Regions from separate parts of the Homo sapiens genome. Here region 2 is linked to region 1. The links are contacts of gene promoters, found by promoter capture Hi-C in blood cells and fetal thymus (Javierre and others, 2016). All regions are on one chromosome and are shown on one strand. Each heading gives the region's core, a stretch centred on a gene start or on the middle of the fragment in contact. The rest is flanking DNA. Distances are from core to core; before and after follow the strand shown.

Region 1 (6,598 bases), core at 2,052-4,551:
TTTGTCATTATGGTTCCAAACATTGGTCCTTTTGGGGAAACTACTCCAGCTCAACAAGCAAATGTCATCAGGTTTGTTTTTGTTTTTATTTCTTTCCCTAGTACAGGAAAGAAGTCCAGAATATGCCACTATAGCATAAGGATTATTTTGAGCTAAAGGCATTTGAGAATCAGTGGATGCAGGAAGAGTTGTTTTATTTTATTTTAATTTTTTCCCTGAACTTACTTGCCTCTCAAAAGAATTCAACTGTCTTAAATTCCTTCCCAGCAATTTCAAAACCAGGGAAGATTGACCCTATCTTTAGAAACAGGAAGTTGGTACTGGGATAATAAATCACCTAATAGACTTTGTCACAAAACTATCATATCTCCCATCTATTCTCCCAAAGGCCTGTTTATCTTTTCTGAAAGTTTTTTCCCAGAAGTGCCCTTTCTCCTTCTCCCTTTCCTTTATTTAGACAGTATATAAGCCCCAAATTCTAATTGCTCCTTGAGTCATAATTTTCTGTGAACTCTGACTGCTTCAGTGAATAAAAATCTATCTTTTCTCCTGCTAAGCTGTGTTTTGTTGGTTTAATTTGCAATCCCCCGAATACTGAACCTAAGAGGGTAGAGTGAAAGTTTTACCTCCCTGGCAACAGGAAAACTTATTTTGTTAAAGATGAATGGCATAGAAGGGGGAAATGATGGTTGGAGTGAGGACCAAAGAAATAACAAAAATGTCCACTTGTACTGAGACAAGTTTTTCCTAAATATTTATTAGTTAGTCCTCAAATATTTTGCTTAAGAGAAGTCCTCAAAATGAAAGAAACTACGTCTTCAATGTACTGAGCAGAAGGAAAGGAGACTGTGCAGCTGAGGAAGCCAGGCCTGAAAAATAAGTGTGGGTTGTGTCACCACACACCAAGGACTGGTGAGAGGAACAATGCACAGTGGTGGAGTGGGAACTGAGCAGGCCATGAGAAGGACAGATATTTGTTTTGCTGCATTCAAGGCCACCTATAGTTCCTGCCCTTTGGGTGCTCATGATGGCAGACAAGCCCTCATGAAGGTGAACCAAAGGAAGGTAATCACAGGGGACCCGTTGGCCCCACCACGCCTGAACAGCTGCTGCAGCCTGAACTTTCTGCCTCACTCCTGCTTTCCTTTCTCCCCATGCATGCTTGCTTGTTGCACTGAACTCTGGCGCATCACTCATTCCTGTTCTTTTTGTCAGGAGAAAAAGTTCTCCTGACATGCAGTGTGTCAAAACTGTACTCATCTCCTCCACCTGCCTTCCCACTTCCCGCCCCTATGCTCCCTCCTGGCTTCTATTTTAAATTTCATTGCAGCAGACACCTCTCTCCAGATTTCATGCCTCAGCAAGGGCACATACCATTCCTCCAGCGAAACCATTCTTTTCCTTTTCACCATTTCATCCTTTTGACTTTCAAACTTCTCACCAACTGGGTGCGTTTTATCCTCCTCTGGTGCCAGCCTTCCTTCTTTGTTAGATACCTAGCATTTACAGCCATCTCTAGGCAGATGTGTGGTCGTTCAGTAAGAAGAGAACACATGTTTTGTGTGCTCACTCCAATGGGTGTCTGGCTTATAAAGTAGGTGTGGTCCAATTCCTGTCTGCTGCCACCATTGTGCCCTGCTCTGGCCAACAGCTCAGAGAGGTTTGCTCTCTCCACTGGCCCTGAAGACCTCCCATGTTCCCCCAGTTCAAACTTCACCTCTCTCATGAGGCTTTCCCTCACTGCATCCTCTACCTCTCTCATGAGGCTTTCCCTCACTGCATCCTCTACTCTCTCATGAGGCTTTCCCTCACTGCATCCTCTACCTCTCTCATGAGGCTTTCCCTCACTGCATCCTGTACCCTCACAGCCCTTAACACACCACTCAACAAATACGCATTTGCATCTAACCAAATGTGACCCTGTGTCCATATTTATGTTTCTGTATATTAATGCATTCTTGTTTCCCCTGCCAGGCTCCATTAGTCTGGTTAGCTTTTGCCCAGGTATCAGGAAATGAGGGGATGGGGAGAGGCTCAGAATCCAAACTTGACAGAGTAGCTGTCCACCACTAGGTGATGGTGGGGTCAGGCATCTCCTTAGGCTGGCTGTGCTTCTGTTTTCTTTTCAATGGAGATACCGGCTTTCTTGGAAACACATGTGATGGTGGGCTAGCCGTAGAAGCACTACTATAATAACGATGTGATCTTTGTCATTTCACTTCTTCAGACCTCATTAGTCCTACATATAAAAAGAGGAAGTTAAACTAGCTCAAATGTACTGAGCAGAAGGAATGGAGACTGTGCAGCTGAGGGAGCGGGGCCTGAAAAATAAGTGTGGGTTGTGTCGCCACACACCGGGACTCCTGGGATCCCGACCTCTTTTAGCGGTCAAAAGAGGGCAAACTAGTTGCCTAACAATATTTAGAGCTATTTCTCTCTTTTCACTCTCATTCTACGAGTGTACACCGGAGTTTCTAGCAACTACATGGTATGTGAAGTCATCCCTCTAATGATAACCTGTAATGAGGTTACTACTGTGATTTTTAATGAATACATTTTAAAATGTTTTAATTTCTTCAAAAGCAAACATTAATCTCTACATATGTGTGTATACATATACAGGAAATGTATGTATATATGAATATACATATATTCATTGTATATGTGTATATATATTCATACATAATATGTGTGTGTGTATATATATATATATTTACACATTTCCTACATAAATAAAAGTTCTTTAAGGTCCTAATAATTTTTAAGTGAAAAGGAGTCCTGGGACCAAAAAGTTTTGAGAATCACTGAACCAGATTTCTAGATCTTTAAGATCATTTATTCACTCAACAAATAATTGTGCCTCCTGTGGCCAGGCATTTTGCAGATACGGAGGATAATGTGGTGATAGCAACATGTTTCCTGCTCTGATAGAGTTTTACATTTGGGAGGGAAGAGACAAACGAATAAATTAACAAGATAATTTCTGAGAGCAGTAGGTTTAATGAAGCCGTAAAGCAGGACACATATCCCTGCACAATCTGTGCGCCTGCTCAGACGTAACACCCCGCAGCGCAGCAGGCAGATTCAGCGGCGTCGCCCCATAAGGGCCCGAGCCCTCTCAGTTGGCCTAGGACGGCGAGGGCGGGGCCTGCCCGCCCCCCTGGCGCTGGCGTCAGGTGACGTCACTGTGCCGCGCCAGCCAATCGTGGGCAGCCGGGGTCTAGGCACCACGGTGGCTGGCGGCCTGCGGGCGGCGCTGTGGCCCGTCGGGCGGCTCCACAGAGCCGCCCTAGCCTTCCGCCTTCCCCAAGCCAACGTCTCCGCCGTCGGCTCCGCGGCGCCGCCATGGCCGACGTGGAAGACGGAGAGGAAACCTGCGCCCTGGCCTCTCACTCCGGGAGCTCAGGCTCCAAGTCGGGAGGCGACAAGATGTTCTCCCTCAAGAAGTGGAACGCGGTGGCCATGTGGAGCTGGGACGTGGAGTGCGATACGTGCGCCATCTGCAGGGTCCAGGTGATGGGTAAGCGCTGCACGCGAGTCCAGGGCCGCCCTGCGGCCTCCGGGAGCCGACCTCGGGGTTGGGAAGGGACGGGCGTCCGTCAGAAGCCTCGGAAAGTGCCCTGCCTGGGAGAGTGGGTGGAGGTCGCCCTGCCCCGGCGCCGGAGGAACGCGGAGCCACGCTCCTGCTGCGGCTCCTGAGGGCTGCGGCCGCCGCCTGGGGCTGCGGGGTTGTGCAACAGGCGCCCTGCGCCGGGTGGTTGGTGTTCTAGGGAGAGAGACGGGCAATAAACGGAGTTAAACAAGGTAATTTCAGGTAGTGATGGGTGTGACCAAGAAAGTAAAACCGGGTGATTGTTGGGAACTAGCAGGAAACACTTCGGTTTGTGTGTCCAGCCCCAGCCCCACCTCTAAAAGCTCAACACAAGGTGGTCAGGGTAAAGGCCGTGATTCAGCAGTGAACTTTAATAGTCTTGGTCACCACCAAAGTGATGCTCCAGAGTCATCTTCCACAAAACGACACCCTTAGTTCTCCTCGAGGGACGCAGGAAAGTGTTCATAGCCATTGCATTTCCGGATTAGCTTACCGCCGCTCTTCGAATGGCTTTTAAATCTGGATTGATTTAAGACGGGTCAGATAGCACTAGCGTGGCTTGAAGGGAACAGTGTGGTTCAAGAATATCTAAGTTTCATGGAAGCTGAAGAATTGTAAGCCCTTTTTTCAGAAACGTAAAACTTCACCTCCATCACACCCCCCTCTCCATATTGGATGCCATTTCCTGGAGAAGATACTGTGCTGCTCTGAGTCATGCCTTTGTGGAGAACCCTCTTACAAATATGTCTTCTTTCTGTGATATTTTGAGTTAAAATATTAGACCAAGTGAAACTTTTCAGAACAGCTTAATCTTGTTATATTTTATATGGTTCTAAGAACTCAGACCACTTTGAAAAGCAGGTGCTATTTAAATGCAAGTTGTATTTTCAGATAGGGCATTTAAAATTACTATGAGACCCTCTTCAGTGGAATTCTTTATTGAGGGTAGTTAAAGAAAACGGACATTTCTATCGTTTGAAAACTGTGACTTGTCTTGAAAAATGAGAGAATTGGAGAACATACAGAGAATTGCTCACCTTAAGGGGGGTGAGACTGTAAACATACCAGAATCAAGAGATTTCGCAGTTTATGCTCTTTTGTCTTTTATTCCTAAGGGCTTGTTTCAAAGAGGATTTACAACAATTGGATTCAGATATTTTTATCTTTCTCTTTTGAAAGACCTTGATATTAGACATGACCCACTTATTTTACATGGATCACTTGAGCCCAGGAGTTTGAGACCAGCCTAGGCAACATCGCAGGACCCTGTCTGTACAATTAAAAATTAAAATAAAAAGCTGACCAGGCATGGTGGCCTCCAGCTACTCTGGAGGCTGAGGTGGGAGGATCCCTTGAGCCCAGGAGGTCGAGGCTACAGTGAGCCTTGTTCCTGCCACTGCCACTGCCACTATACTCCAGCTTGGGTGACAGAATGAGACCCTGTCTCAGCAACAAACAAACAAAACATATGAGGCTTTAAAAGTATCTAGTTTATTTGCCAGCAATACAGCTGCCCCTACCCCCACTTAGGAATCATAATTTCTAGTTTGGGAAGCATTTTTAACTGATCCAGGAGACTCTTTTTTTTTTTTTTTAAGACAAGTTTCGCTAAACATTTTATCTCCTAAATAAATTTCCTTTAGTTTAAAGGAAACTAAGCTTTCACTTAGTTCCTTTCCAGTTTAAAAATAATGTTCCCAAAGGGTATTTTCAAAAGATTTGTCTCCCAAAAAGCTATTTCCTCCCCAAAGGAAAAACATTTAAAGAGTAAGTGGAAATGTATAACCTGAAATAATGATTGAAACTTTGCAACAAATAAACTTTACTGAGAGATTTTAATGTAGGTCAAAGTATAGACTATAAATGACACATTTCATCATAAACTTTCTAATTATAGCAAGTATTCTGCTACTACAGGATCAGTCTTGCATATTTACAACAGCTGTACTTTGGGTTCAGGAAATTATTCTAGGCTAGACCTTTGTATTTTGTTTATGAGGTGTTAAAACCCACTTAGAGGTCAGGTGACAGCAGAAGGAAATTTTTTTTCCAGACTTCCTAGTCCTTACCCTAGCATCATTCTAAAAGGTGTTATTGTACTCCTTAGAAATGTGCTGTTTTAGATTCTAGGAAGATCATTAAAGCAATTTTTTATCTTTTATCTGAAACTTTAGGAATTTGTGTAGATTTGGGTCAGTTTTGATAATCTACATCAGAGCTATAAGTGTAATTTAGAGATTCCTAAATTCAGCAACAAGAACCCACTTAGTTCCCTTTCCTTAGTATTTGGAATTTGTCTCACACACTTGTGATTTATTATACTTTCTGCTCCCAAGACTTGCCTGTCAGCCCATTCTGATATGGATAACACTCTCTTCGTTTCCACTCTCCTCCCTTCATTCAGAAAGGAGTGATGATTACACAGTGAGCAAGTGCTGATGAAAAGGGGAATAGGTTTGCTAGTACAGCCAGTTATAATAGCCAGAGTAACCCTTCATGACTGTATCACCTTGGATATTTCACATAACTTTTTGGAGCCTTATTTTCCTAATTTGTAAAGAGGCAGTTGGGATCACCAACCTTAATATTAAAATTCTGTGATTGCACAGAACTAGCGCCAGATTCAGGTAGGATGTCTTCACTGTTATATCACAACCCTCATGATATTTAGGTGTTTGTCTACGTCCCCATTTGCTCCTGAGCCCCTTGAGACCCAGCCTTGGTCATTTTGGTGTCCCCAGTGCATAACTCCTTGCACAGAGGAGATAGTAATTGTGGGATTGAAGAAAACCTCAGGAGGCAGTGGTTGTTTTTAATCCACACTGAAGAGACTAGGGCAGTGGTGTTTTTTTAAGGGTAAGAGCATGTGGAAAGGAGCAAACAAATGCCTGAGCAGAATCCAGTGTAAGAAGAGAAGCAGGCTTCAACTTAACCGTGTTTCTATTTTTACAGAATTATTTTTCTCCTATTTATGTTAAAAACTATTTTCTGTTGGTTCAAACTTCC
Region 2 (6,598 bases), core at 1,762-4,261, 260 kb after region 1:
AAAGGCACTTAATGTCAGTCATCTAAAAATATAAGCAATGCCTTTGATTTACTTATATCCTAGGATCTTAAAGCACAAGTATCCTGAATACTGACATGAGGTCACAATGCAGGTTTCAGCAAATAAATGGCAATTTGGAAGGATTAAGTAGAGAACTGATAATGCTTTAAAAATCAGAAAAATGAAAAGCTTTCTTTGAAACTGAGGAAATGAATTGCAGTACAGCTTGATTTACTAGAACCAGGGCAACAGCAAATCACACTTCCACAGTCCATCATACAGTATACACAAAGATACTATCCAGCTTGGATTATTATATAGATGCAATTTTATCCTTTTTTAAAAGAGTATTGGACCAGGAGCGGTGGCTCGTGCCTGTAAACCCAGCATTTGGGAGGCCGAGGTGGGAGGATCACCTGAGGTCACGAGTTCAAGACCAGCCTGGCCAACATGGTGAAAACCTATCTCTATTAAAAATATAAAATTAGCCAGGTATGGTGCTGTGCGCCTGTAATCCCAGCTACATGGGAGGCTGAGGCAGGAGAATCGCTTGAACCTGGAAGGTGGAAGTTGCAGTGAGTTGAGATCACGCCACTGCACTCCAGCCTGGGCAAAAAGAGCAAAACTCCATTTCAAAAAAAAAAAAAAAAAAAAAAAAGAGTATTCATGTTATTAAATACTCTTTGAAGATAGTTTAAAGACCATAAAACATTCTACCATGTGGATTTATTATTCTCTATTAGATATATATGCATTTTTAATTATTCACTATTATAAAGAATGCTGTGATAAACATTTTTGTACAAAGACCTTGCCCTTAATTTCTATTTCCTAAGGCTAGACTCCAGAAAGGGGATTAATGGAACCCCTAAAGACTTTTTTAGAAAGGTACCTTATATGTGTTACCAGGTCTTAAAATTTTCACTGGTTACAAAACAAAACATGTTTTTCCCAAAGACATTTATAATAATTAATACAAAAAAACTAGCAGCCTAGTAATAGCTTTAGAAGTATTTTCATGTAAAAAAAGGGGAAGAGGCATGCTCCGGTGAATGGGGATATTAATGAAACATGATTGGCCCCTATGTGGATAATTGTTGAAGCAACTGCTGGGTATATAGTTCTATTTTTGTAAAGTTTTGAAAGTGTTCATGATAGTAAGTTTTAAGTCCCAACTGAGAATGAAAAATATCTACAGGGACTACAAGTAATTGTTAATAAGTCCTCAAACAAGAGAAATAGTTCTATTTCTACTGCCTTATGCAAGACAAAATGCTAATTAATTTTTATCTCCCTGACCAAATGAAACATGTTTCTGCAGCCAGGGTGAATCATTAAGTTCATTGCTAACTTGCTCCATACATAACTGAAGGGAAGGATTAATAAGCATTTCAAGCTCTTTATTTGCATTTGAAGGAAAGAGTCAAACAATAACCTCTGAAGCATAAAAATAGTTCAGACCTAGTTATTAAAGTCTAGTCAACATTTATTCATTTACCAAGTATTTAAGACCTTAGTTAGAGTCTGTTTATGTTTGACTATGTTAGCTTGGGGCTAGGAAGATGTTAGCACCTAGAAATGTTTATGAAATAGTTTCAATCCGTTCATTCCATAGTTTAAAAAAATAAAAACAAAAGTTAATAATACTGACAGATGTCTGGAGAGTTCTGATTATGTACAATACACCAAGGGTATTAAATAAGGCACTCAGAAGTTTGCCTCATGAGAAAACATAAAAACAGACAATGTGTCTGTACCTCTCATCAAATTCTGCCTTGCATTCCAAGTATGCTTGCACTTCCCACTCCACACATCTGGTCCCACATCCCCACTTTCAGTGCATCCCCCATTTCAGTGCAGGATCTTTAGGGGTGGCGAGTACCTTGCTAAACTATGTCCTTTGCAGGGTTTAACACAGTGGTAGGGGATGCTCATAGGAAAGGTACAATAAATATTTACTAACTGGGATAAAATACTCAATTTTTAAAATAATAGGGGAAAAAGTAACTTCATTTATTGATATGCTAAAAGGTTTATATAAAATCCACTAAAAAAATACAGCATAGTTTCCACCAATCACTACATCACATTCTCTATCATGCTGACCTTGGATGGACAACTTATAAAGAAAAATGTGAGTTATTTGATTAGCCTCTGGTCAACCCTATTCCTTGAACAGCAGTGTCTACAAAGCTATTCTAAGCATTCCAATTTACCCTTGAAACAGATTGTATTACTACTGCAGTATTTCTATATGGTATTAGCAGCCTACATGCTTGGTTTTGCTGATTTACAGGACTTTGTAGAAAAAAAAAAGGAGCTGGGCATGGTGGCTCATGCCTGTAATCCTAGCACTTTGAGAGGCAAAGGCAGGCGGATCATTTGAGGCCAGGAGTTCAAGATCAGCCTGGCCAATATGGTGAAACCCTAACTCTCCTAAAAATACAAAAATTAGCTGGGCGTGGGGGTGGGCACCTATAATCTCAGCTACCTGGAAGGCTGAGGCAGGACAATCACTTGAACCCAGGAGGCAGAGGTTACAGTAAGCAGAGATCATGCCACTGCACTCCAGCCTGGGCGACAGAGTGAGACTCCATCTCAAAAAAAAAAAAAAAAAAAAAGAGAAAGAAAGGAAAAAAAGAGAGAAGGAAGGGAAAGAGGACATAGAGAAAAACTGGCTATCTTTATGAAAATGACTTTGAAAGTGAATTCTAGTTTACATTTTCTTTTTTTCCCTCCCTCATTGTCAGATTGTTAGCTGCGGCTGATCGGAGAGTGATTAGCAACACTCTGCTCCTTTCTCTTAGCACAGGGCCTGGTACATAGCAATTCCTTAATAAACATTTCCTACATGAACAAATTAGAGAGATGACGCACCTGAATAGGAAAGATAAGGCCTAAGAGTATGTGAGATACAGTAAGTTCCTAAACTAGGATAATGAGAGTGAAACGTAAGAAATAAAACAGAAGGAAAGTCGGTAAGACTTGAACAGCCACAGAATATAAGAAAATTGGTTTATAGGGTGATGAGCCGGTCATGCTTTCTAACCCTGAACCTTAATTTTGAAATCCCAGGCCAGGCACAGTGGCTCACTCCTATAATCCCCGCACTTTGGGAGCCTAAGGCAGGTGAGGTAGGCTCCCATTTGAGGTAGGGAGTTCGAGACCAGCCTGGCCAACATGGTGAAACCCCATATCTACCAAAAATACAAAAAAAATCAGCTGGGTGTTGTGGTGCACGCCGGTAATCCCAGCTACTCAGGAGGCTGAGGCAGAAGAATCACTTGAACCTGGGAAGCGGAGGCTGCAGTGAGCTGAGATCGTGCCACTACACTCTCCAGCCTAGGTGACAGAGCGAGACTCTGTCAAAAAAGAAAAAAAATTTGAAGTACTGAAGTTGGAGGTAAAAATATACTTTTAATATTCACTTGATATGCTAAGGAAAATGGAGTTTTAAATTTCAGAGTCCTCCTACCAAAAATCCAGACATCCTTAACTTAAATGTTATCATGTGGTTTCTCTGACAATAGAATTAGTTACTCTGGGAAAATCACATAGCAATTGAACATTACTCTGAACATTTTCCTGCCCTCAATCAACATATTTTATGTGCTACTGCCATCTACAGTTAAAAAAAGCCAAGACAGCATATGTATTCTAAAGGGAAAAAAAATTACAAAATTATAAAGTGGTATATTAAGAGATTTCACTATTTGATGGAATTTTGGTTTTCACTATAAGAAGCATGCAGTTTTTACTCTTCTAAAATAAGACAGCCATTAGATTATCTTATACAGTTGACCCTTGAACAACATGGGCTTGAACTGGGCAGGTCCACTTATACATGGATTTTCTTCCACTTCTGCCACCCTTGAGACAGCCAGACCAACTCCTCCCTCTTTCTCCTCCGCAGCCTGCTCAACGTGAAGACGTCGAGGATGAAGACTTTTATGATAATCCACTTCCATTTAATGAATTATAAATGTATTTTCCTAATGATTTTCTTTGTAATATTTTTCCCTAGGTTACTTTATTGTAAGAATACAGTATACAATACATATTAACATATGAAATAACATTAATATAACATAAAATGTGTTATTTGATTATTTATGTTATAGTAAGGCTTCTAGTCAATAATAAGGTATTAATAGTTACATTTTGGGGGAGTCAAAAGCTACCCATGGATTTGTGACTGCACAGGGGCTGTGCCCTTATCCCTTGCATTGGTCAAAGGTCAACTGTATAAATAATCTTAAGATCTATAACATATAACCATAAGACAGCCTGTAAGAAAAGGGCAAGTATCTCAAACTAAAATAGGTACTGCTAAACTAGTTTCCATAACCACACAAAACTTTTCATGGGGCCTTTTGAAATTTCTATCTACCATTAAGATTTGGCTTCCAAAAGACATGTAAAGTTCAAAGGGCAAGCACAAAAAGAAGGCTAAGAAGCAAATGGGTGAGTTTGTAATGCAAGAATTCCTTTTTTTTTTTTTTTTGAGACGGAGTCTGGCTCTGTTGCCTAGGCTGGAGTGCAGTGGCGTGATCTCAGCTCACTGCAAGCTCCGCCTCCCGGGTTCATGCCATTCTCCTGCCTCAGCCTCCTGAGTAGCTGGGACTACAGGCGCCTGCCACCACGCCCGGCTAATTTTTTGTACTTTTAGTAGAGACGGGGTTTCACCTTGTTAGCCAGGATGGTCTCGATCTCCTGACCTCGTGATCTGCCTGCCTGAGCCTCCCAAAGTGCTGGGATTACAGGCGTGAGCCACCACGCCCAGCCTAATCCAAGAATTCTTTAACTAAACAAAAACTTTTTTAAAAATCATGGATGAGGGAGTTAGAGGAGAAGCGATAAATGGCTGTAACTGGGTGTCTTAGTCCATTCAGGCTACCATAACAAACCACCTTAGACTGGGTAATTAATTAATTTTCTTTAAAGTCTTCTGCAAGGAGTACAAAACTGGGTAATTTACAAACCACAGAAATTTATTGCTCACTGTTCTGGAGGTTGCTGAGAGGTCCAAAATGAAAGTGCCGGCAGATTCAGTGCCTGGTGAGGGTTTATTCTCTGCTTCAAAGATGATGCCTTCTGGTTGCATCCTAATAGCAGAAAGGGTCCAGGGTGCTCCCTTCAACCTCTTTTATAAGGGCACTAATTCCACTCATAAGGGTGAAGCCCTCATGACTTCATCACTTCCCAAAAGGCCCCGCCTCTTAATACCACCACAGTAGGGATTAGGTTTCAACATGAATTTTTGGAGGAACCCATTCAAACCACAGCATCCAGTTCCTGGCCCTCTAAAATTCATGTCTATTTCACAGGCAAAATACATTCATTTCATTCCAATAGTCTCACAAGTCTTAACTCCTTCCCAAAATCAGATATGGGTAAGACTCAAAGGTGCAATTCATCCTGAGGCAAATTCCCCTCCAGCTGTGAGTCTGTGAAATCCAACCTGTTTCCAAAATGCAATGATGGGACAGGCACAGAACATGCATTCCCATTCCAAAAGGGAGAAAATAGAAAAGAAGAAAGGGATAATAGGTCCCAACCAATACAAAACCCAACAGGGCAAACATTAACTTTTAAGGCTTCAGAATAATCTTCGACTTGATATCCTGCCTTCTGGACACACTGGAGCAGGAGTTGGGCCCCCAGGGTACCAGGGGCCCCCACCCCCATGACTTTATTGGGGGCAGCCCATGCTGCAGTTCTCCTGGGTTAGAGTTTGAGTCTTCTGCATGTGGCTCTCCCAGGCTGGAGTTGCATGCTGGAAGCTCTACTAGACTAGGGCCTCAGGGAGCAACCCCGCGCACCTCAGCTCCACCAAGCTTTGCCCTGGTGAGGGTTCCCAATGGTGGCCTCACCTCTGTAGCAATTCTCTGCCAGGATCTGCTAAGGCTCTCCAGGGCATCTTTTGAAATCTAGGTGGAAGTTATCATACCCCGCAGCTTGTACACTCTGCACCCACTGGAGATGGCATCACTCAGACACTGCCAAGGTTCACCACCTGTGCCCTCTAGAGGAGCAGCCACTATACTTGGGCCTACTGGAGCCACACCTGGAATGGCTAAGGAGCACTGTGCCAAAATTCGGGGAGCAGACTTGACACAGTGCCAGGAAGGGATTGCCAGGGTTTCATTAGCGCCTGAAGCCCCTCTTTTGATAGTTCTGTCCCCCATGCCTTGGCACTCTGGGCCTGTGATGGGAGGAGCAGCACCGGTAATCACTGAAATGCTATGGGTTTATTCTTCCATTGTTTTGATGAACAACACCAAGCTTCCACCCATGCACGCTAATCTCCTTATCAAAAGGTGACTAGGCCACTCTTTTGGTGTTCTCTCCAAAACATGCTTTTTTATTCTTTACATGGCCAAGCTGAGAATTTCCCAAATCTTCACTTCTGATGATAAATTATATCTTTAATTCATTTCTCTCTTCTCACATTTTACTATAAACAGCCAAGAGAAGCCATGTTGATCCCTAAACACTTTGCTTAGAGATTTCTTTGACCAAATATCCAATTTCACGGCTCCTAAGTTCCTCCTTCCACAAAACATTAAAACAGGAAAACAATTCAGTGAAGTCCCTT

What was found. The method cuts DNA at HindIII sites, captures the fragments that hold promoters and counts their contacts. A CHiCAGO score of 5 or more calls a contact.
Region 2: a fragment that was not itself captured here is called in contact with the fragment with the promoter of RNF7 in region 1 in 1 of 17 cell types (M0 macrophages); the score reaches 5.4 in M0 macrophages.

Annotation. Positions count from the first base shown.
Region 1 is chr3:141,734,997-141,741,594 of GRCh38, forward strand. RNF7 (ring finger protein 7) reads left to right here and starts at 3,302. Exons shown (of 3, transcript NM_014245.5): 1 at 3,302-3,520. The coding sequence starts at 3,346. RefSeq lists enhancers at 2,845-2,894, 2,935-2,984, 3,095-3,774, 3,335-3,574, 3,775-4,453 and silencers at 3,075-3,334, 3,595-3,774. The HindIII fragment of the contact is 15,473 bases long and covers 1-5,249 here.
Region 2 is chr3:141,995,250-142,001,847 of GRCh38, forward strand. The region is part of intron 4 of TFDP2 (transcription factor Dp-2); the gene reads right to left. Among named protein-coding and RNA genes, the nearest start is that of ATP1B3, 120 kb to the left of the region's middle. RefSeq lists a silencer at 5,524-5,717. The HindIII fragment of the contact is 5,648 bases long and covers 188-5,835 here.